2 separate regions of the Homo sapiens genome follow, and region 2 is linked to region 1. The links are contacts of gene promoters, found by promoter capture Hi-C in human tissues and cell types (Jung and others, 2019). All regions are on one chromosome and are shown on one strand. Each heading gives the region's core, a stretch centred on a gene start or on the middle of the fragment in contact. The rest is flanking DNA. Distances are from core to core; before and after follow the strand shown.

The links. Contacts are between HindIII fragments. The study calls those that stand out against the background at their distance.
Region 2: a fragment that was not itself captured here is called in contact with the fragment with the promoter of MAP3K4 in region 1 in 1 of the 25 tissues and cell types used here (dorsolateral prefrontal cortex).

What each region holds. Positions count from the first base shown.
Region 1 is chr6:160,990,201-160,993,462 of GRCh38, forward strand. MAP3K4 (mitogen-activated protein kinase kinase kinase 4) reads left to right here and starts at 1,569. Exons shown (of 27, transcript NM_005922.4): 1 at 1,569-1,883. The coding sequence starts at 1,732. MAP3K4-AS1 (MAP3K4 antisense RNA 1) reads right to left here and starts at 2,142. Exons shown (of 1, transcript NR_174962.1): 1 at 118-2,142. RefSeq lists enhancers at 1,005-1,064, 1,085-1,154, 1,107-1,976 and silencers at 1,245-1,574, 2,037-2,331, 2,245-2,374. The HindIII fragment of the contact is 15,236 bases long and covers 1-3,262 here.
Region 2 is chr6:161,329,778-161,333,039 of GRCh38, forward strand. No RefSeq gene overlaps it. Among named protein-coding and RNA genes, the nearest start is that of AGPAT4, 57 kb to the left of the region's middle. The HindIII fragment of the contact is 7,948 bases long and covers 1-3,262 here.

The DNA.
Region 1 (3,262 bases), core at 319-2,818:
AGGTCTCCCGCATGCTGATTATATTTGCTAAGTGTTTTGTGACTTGGACACACGTGTCTGCATTATCAGCTAGCTTAAATTCGGTAGTCATACCAAAGAATACGTAGTACAATGCTGTTTAAAGAAGAGATTTATTTTATTATTTAACTTTTAAAGTCTCTAATATGCCTTCTAAGAAGGGTTCTGGCTCAGAAAATTGCAGAAGAAAATCGAGTAGAGAACTAGAATTACAGAAACCTAAGAAATACTTTTACTGAGCTTTCTTCACACAAGAAAATGCACGGAAATGAATTATACATGGATACCAATTTGTGATTTTTAAAAATTTGTAATTTTTTAAATTAAGATAAAAATTAGTTTATTTTTTTGAATACTTTTTTGTTTTGTTTTACCTCACCCTTTACTAAGCTGTTAGCTTGGTCTGTTGCGCTTACTGCTATATCCTCAGCATCTAGTACAGTTCCTGACACATATATGCACTTAATAAGTATTTGTCAAATGAATATTATTGAGTAAATAAGATGAAGGTCAATTCAGAAATTCAGCACTATCAGGCTATATACATAATACAGACTATTATAAAAAACTAGAATGGAGCAGTTCCTTTTAACGACGGAGAAATGTCAGTAACATACTTTGAGCACAATATAGCTAATTTCACAACTGGTCTTTAAATATAACATACCTATAATCAATTTAATGTTTTTCTTTGTTACCAGAGTTGTTCAAAACGTGCGTTTCACCTATCAAAGCTCAACTAAATGAGGTTTAAGAAATCTGCACATTTGAATGTACTTAATTTTAAAAGATTCTGGTTTTGGATTAACTCTGGATTTCACCCTATGGGAAATTTTGTAAATATTTCCAACTTAAAAAAAAACTGTGAAGCCCCAGCGCTAAGAGTAAACGATGCATTGGAATTTCAACAGGATTTCTGTAACTCTGAAATAATCTTTAGCATTTCTTCTTCCCCCCATCCCCTCAGTGTAGGAGCATTCCAGTCCAAGTTTCTGGGAGATCGCTATCGAATCTTATGACACTGGGGTGAGAAGTTTTGCCGGGTTGAAATGAGGGGGTCACTTTAATAATCTGGAATTCCGGAGACTTTATGTCAAGTCTTAAAAATTCGAGCCTGTGGAAGGCTGCGCTGTCAAGAGACCGGAGTTGCGAGCGTCTGGGTGACGTCCGTCCTCCTGGAAGGTGGGATCCGGGTGGCAGGTCCCTGGGCGGCGACTCCGGCCGGGCTCATAGCGTCGCGCCCGCCCCGCTCATCGGCCCTACCCAGCGTCCCTCCCAGACCGACGACCGCCTGGGAAGCCTCGAGCTCCCAGCCCGCTGCACAGCCCGGCTCCGCTCCACAGTCCCCCACTGCCACCGGCCGGGGCGACACCGGGCGAGCTGGCGAGACCCGGCTCCAGGACCGAATCGCGCCGACACTTGACGGCGCTCCCCGCCCCTCCCTGCCGCCGTCTCCGCCCCCGTCCGGTCGCATTCCGGCGCCCGCCGCCGCCGCCGCCACCGCCGCCGATCTGGGAGGCTTGTCCCTCGCCGCCCACCGTAGCCCCGGCGCTCGGCCGGTCGCCGTTTCCAAGATGGCCGCGGCGCGCACGGCTCCTGCGGCGGGGTAGAGGCGGAGGCGGAGTCGAGTCACTCCCGCACTTCGGGGCTCCGGTGCCCCGCGCCAGGCTGCAGCTTACTGCCCGCCGCGGCCATGCGGGGCTCCGTGCACGGATGAGAGAAGCCGCTGCCGCGCTGGTCCCTCCTCCCGCCTTTGCCGTCACGCCTGCCGCCGCCATGGAGGAGCCGCCGCCACCGCCGCCGCCGCCACCACCGCCACCGGAACCCGAGACCGAGTCAGAACCCGAGTGCTGCTTGGCGGCGAGGTGAGTGTGGCGGCCGCAGTCGGTCGCTCGCAGAAAGCGGGGCGGGTCCTGGCCCGAACTCGGTCGGGCCCGAGGGCCTCTGCTTCCCGCCAGGTGGGGAGGGAAGCATCCAGTCTCTGCAGGCTGGGGCGGGAGGGGCGCGGTGCATCCCTGGGTCCCAGGGGACCGCGTCTGAGTCTGTCCGGCGACTCCTCCCGGGGTTGCAGCTCCGCAGGGTTCCGCTCGAGCGTGTTGCCGGCTCCCCTTCCCTTGTAGACTCCCCCAGCTCACCCTCAACGTTGCGGGGGCTGGGAGCAGAGTGCGGCTGCCTCCCCTGCCGCTAGCTTCGGAAGAGTGGCCTCACTGAAGTGCCTCTCATCATTACTGAACGAAAGTGGTCCCTCCCCTCTGCCCTCATTCGAGTAAAAGAGACATTCGGAAATCGAGTGCGTACTGGCTATTTCCCCGCGTTCTCCTCCTCCTCTCCTTTTGCCCGCTCCAGAGAATGCCTGTCATCTCTTCCGTGAGAAATTGCACTTAGACTATGCAGACAGATACGTTGCTTTCCTGTTCTGAGGGCCCCTTACTGTCCTTTAGTGCTAGTATTGTGCAGATTGTTGCTCACACGTGCACAAAAGTAAGGATTCATTTGTCTAAAACTTTGCTACTGCAGGAAGCTCTAAGGTGGAACTTCGGTAACCAAAGCATTTGTTGCTTTTTCTTCCATACTCTATTAACTTATTTTTATGTCTTTATTTTTTTTTTAATTGAGAGAACAAACTCACCATAACTGAGAATTTCCCTCTTTTTACGTGCCTATGTTTGTATGTTCAAATGTCCTCTTACTCCCTGTCCTTTGCATCCCAGAGTAAACTTGCAAACTGCTGCCCCCTGTCCCCTGTAATGAAAATACCTCGGCAGCTCCTCTTGGCATCTTATGGTCTTGCTCTATGGTTCTAGGAATAAGGCAGTAAAGTGTCCTCTTTTTCCTGCTTAAAGAAAATTCACACCTGTAACTGTAGTTAGAACTGAACACAGGAGCCATATTCTTGCTTGTCATCATTCAGTTGGCCCAAACAAATTTGTTTTATTTTTATAAGCTGTGAAGAAATTAGTTGCCTCTTTTAATTCTGAGATAGTTCTGGGTACTTCTAAGGAACAACTTCTCTGAATAATGGTACAGGGTGTAATGAGAATTCCTTTGGTTCCTTTTGAATACATCTAGTATTTTTAGAAATTTTGTCAGAAAGTTTATTATAAATTTGTTAACGGATCAGTTTTCGAGCAATTTTGATACCTTTTTCTTTAAAATTAATAGTGAACACTTAACGGTTAAAATAGGCCATTGTCTTTATTTCTATTAACCCATTTAATCTTTTCAACAACTCTATGAGGTAGGT
Region 2 (3,262 bases), core at 266-2,765, 340 kb after region 1:
ACCTGTCTTGGATACTTTGGGTTCACAAATTGGTAATCATGAAGGGATTGTGAGTGGAAGGGCCCCTGACCTTTGACAAATCTGTTGTTGCTTGGTACCAGCTTGAGCTATCCCTATGGCTCAAACCAACAGGAAAATTTGCTGAGGCCTAGGCACCCCCTCCCTCCAGGGTATCACTGTTCTCTCAAAATTTGGTCAAGTTCTGAAGTTTTTTTTTGCTATGCAAGTACTTTTGTGGAGTTTTGCTTGCTTCCAACAATGAAGGCAAGTTTTCCTGCTTCATGATGATGGAAGGCAGGCAACTCTTTTCTGGACTTGCAGCTCACTTCCAACAGGCAAGGCAAGTTTGAGTTTTTCTCCTGTTTCTAGGATGGTAGAGAGCAGTCTTCAACCTGGGACCCATTCCTAGGTAAGTAGCTGAATTGTTCTTTTTTTTTTTGTCTTGGAAATTCTTCTTAATCACTAAAGTCAAGATTCACAACCAGCTAGTATTAATTACGCCTTACCATTAGAGCGCTCAGTAATCGTATAAATTGTGCAATTGTTTGTTTTGCTTAACTCTTTTGTTGTTGTTGTTTATTTGTTTCTGTTTTGTTGTTGTTTTGGTCTTTTTCCCATTGGGTTTGACCAACTCCATCCAACTTGATCAAATCCAAAGAAAAGTTTCAAATTATGGGGAACAAGTCCTCTGAATTGGCTACATTCCTGCAGCTGGAAAAAAAAAAGGAAAAAGAAAAAAATGGCCAGCAAAAGGGAAAAAAAGGGAACGATTTTTGATTTTGACTGCCCTAGGGGCTTTATTTCCATAACAAGGCCACGTTTTTGCTAGCCAAGCCACACTGAAAGAGAGCAATGGCTGTTGCCCCACTGCAGTTCAATAGCTTAGTTCTGCCCTTTTTTTCCACTACTACAGCCTGGGTTTGGTTCCTAAATCAAGTCCTTTTCGGTTTGATATTTGTGCTACTTTTGAAATATCAGCAATTTGGCCCAGCTAAAATATGGTAATAAGATTTTAAAAATTTGTTCTAAGGAGCTCAGTGGTTAAAAGTCAGCTTAATTAAAAGCTAATATCCAGTGTGTGTGTGTGTGTGTGTGTGTGTGTGTGTGTGTGTGTGTGTGTGTGTGTGTGTGTGTTTATTTAAAAGATCTTTTTTTCCTCTCGTAGAACCTTGTTTTTATAAGAAAAGTTTTTTTTCTTTCTTTCTTCTCAGTTGACCGAAATCTGTTTTCTACGTTAACTTTTGCTGCCTCTCCTTGCTCTTGACACGTTGCTACATGAGAGACCTAAAACATTTTCTAACAGCCTGTGATTCCTTAAAGAAAGCAGAGAAGGTGTCAGACTCCCCTTTGGGGTGAAACCTCTGTTTTTTATTTTGGAACCCTAAAAGTGTAAACAGACAAGTTCATCCTATATCTTAAATTCCTTGCTTTTGTATTGTGTTACCTGATGTTTTTTTTTTTTTTTTCTGACTAAAATAGTTACTTCAGCAGAGTCTACTCTTGGGTGTTTTACTTAAGGAAGAGTGTAGTTTAGACACTTAGAGAAATGTCTTTATTAAAAAATAGGTACACTGTAAAAGCATCATGTGTTCTAGTCTCAAAAAATTATATGTTTTGGGAGACACAGGATTCAGTGTGGGCTCTGCCCAGAGCTCAGAGATCCAGTTAAAAGCTAGAGACTAAATTTAGAACTACCTATCTAAATAAAATTGGTCTCCTTATACAATCCTATGATAGATTTCTATAGTTTCATGTTTGATTTGGCATCCGTTCTTAATCTCCCTCTAGCACATCAGACTCTTTCCCTCTGTACTTTGAGATGTAAACTTTGATATCTGATTTTTCCCCCAGGAGCTGTTTCCTTAATATGCAAACTTAGGGCTACCTGGCTGACAACTGGCTAGGATAATAAAACAGGTGTAAAAAGTAAAGTAGAGGTTCCTCTTCAAAGGCTTTCCTCCCCATCTAATTAAGAATAAATAGTAACTTCTCTTAGAAGCAAAATTTATTCAAAGGCCTGTGCTAACATTCTTAAGTATCTGTTAGCCGTAATAAGGAAATCAATGTACTTTATGTTCTTAGCTCCCACAATTTAGCCTAAGTATTTGCCCTGGCACGCTTATACTGGTCCAAGCAAGCATTAAGTCATAGCCTGTTCCTCTTCCATATTTGAAGGTGTTTTTACCTTTCTCAGCATTCCACAAGTTACTTCCTCCTTCCTTTGTTCTCCTCTGCCTTTGCCTCTTTTAAAAAGTTGTAAGTTGCTAGCCAATCAGGACAAATACAGAATGTGAGGTCCCGTTCCAGCTGATGGAAACCAGGCACAGCAGTAAGGTGGACATGTCAGGTTATAAATGACCCTGTCTCCTTTGTTCGGTGTACTCTTGTGGCAAAACTGCTGGCGAGTGTACCCTTTCTGCACAAAGTAAAAAAAATGGCCTTGCTGAAGAAATTAAATTTATGTTCAAGTGCTATTTCTTTATAGCACCGAAGAACAAACATTTCTAACACAGGTTATCAAGAAATTGGAAATCTAAAATAGGAGGAAAAAATAAGAGGGCTTATGAATGTATAAGATCTACTTTTATCTGCATGTCTAATACGTCTATGTATTTATGTGTCGTGTATATGAGATTTCACTACTAAAAAGACATAAAAGAGCTCTAATCAACTGGCTTAAAGAAGAAAAAAAAGCACTTATATCGAATACCTTATCAGAAGAAATGGAGACTTTAACAAAGGCTTTTTCAAGTTCATGTGACTTGAGTCAATCTTTAATAGATAAGCTGATTTTTAAAATATTGGTGAAATAGAATTGGAAATGGCTTCAAAATTGTCAATATACATTATGGTTTAAATTTACTGGTCAAGTATTTTTTTTTTTTTTTTGAGACGGAGTTTATGCTCATGTTACCACGCTGGAGTGCAATGGTGCAATCTCAGCTCACCGCAACCTCCGCCTCCCAGGTTCAAGCGATTCTCCTGCCTCAGCCTCCTGAGTAGCTGGGATTACAGGCATATGCCAGCTAATTTTGTATTTTTAGTAGAGACAGGGTTTCTCCATGTTGGTCAGGCTGGTCTCGAACTCTCAACCTCAGGTGATCCGCCCGCCTCAGCCTCCCAAAGTGCTAGGATTACAGGCGTGAGCCACCACGCTCGGCCTTGGTCAAATATTTTTATATTTATCTCTGCTAGGTGTCAAAATTTGGCAGGAGGTTATAAAACTATGAACACAGCCTGAAAGAGAATTATCTTTGTGTAC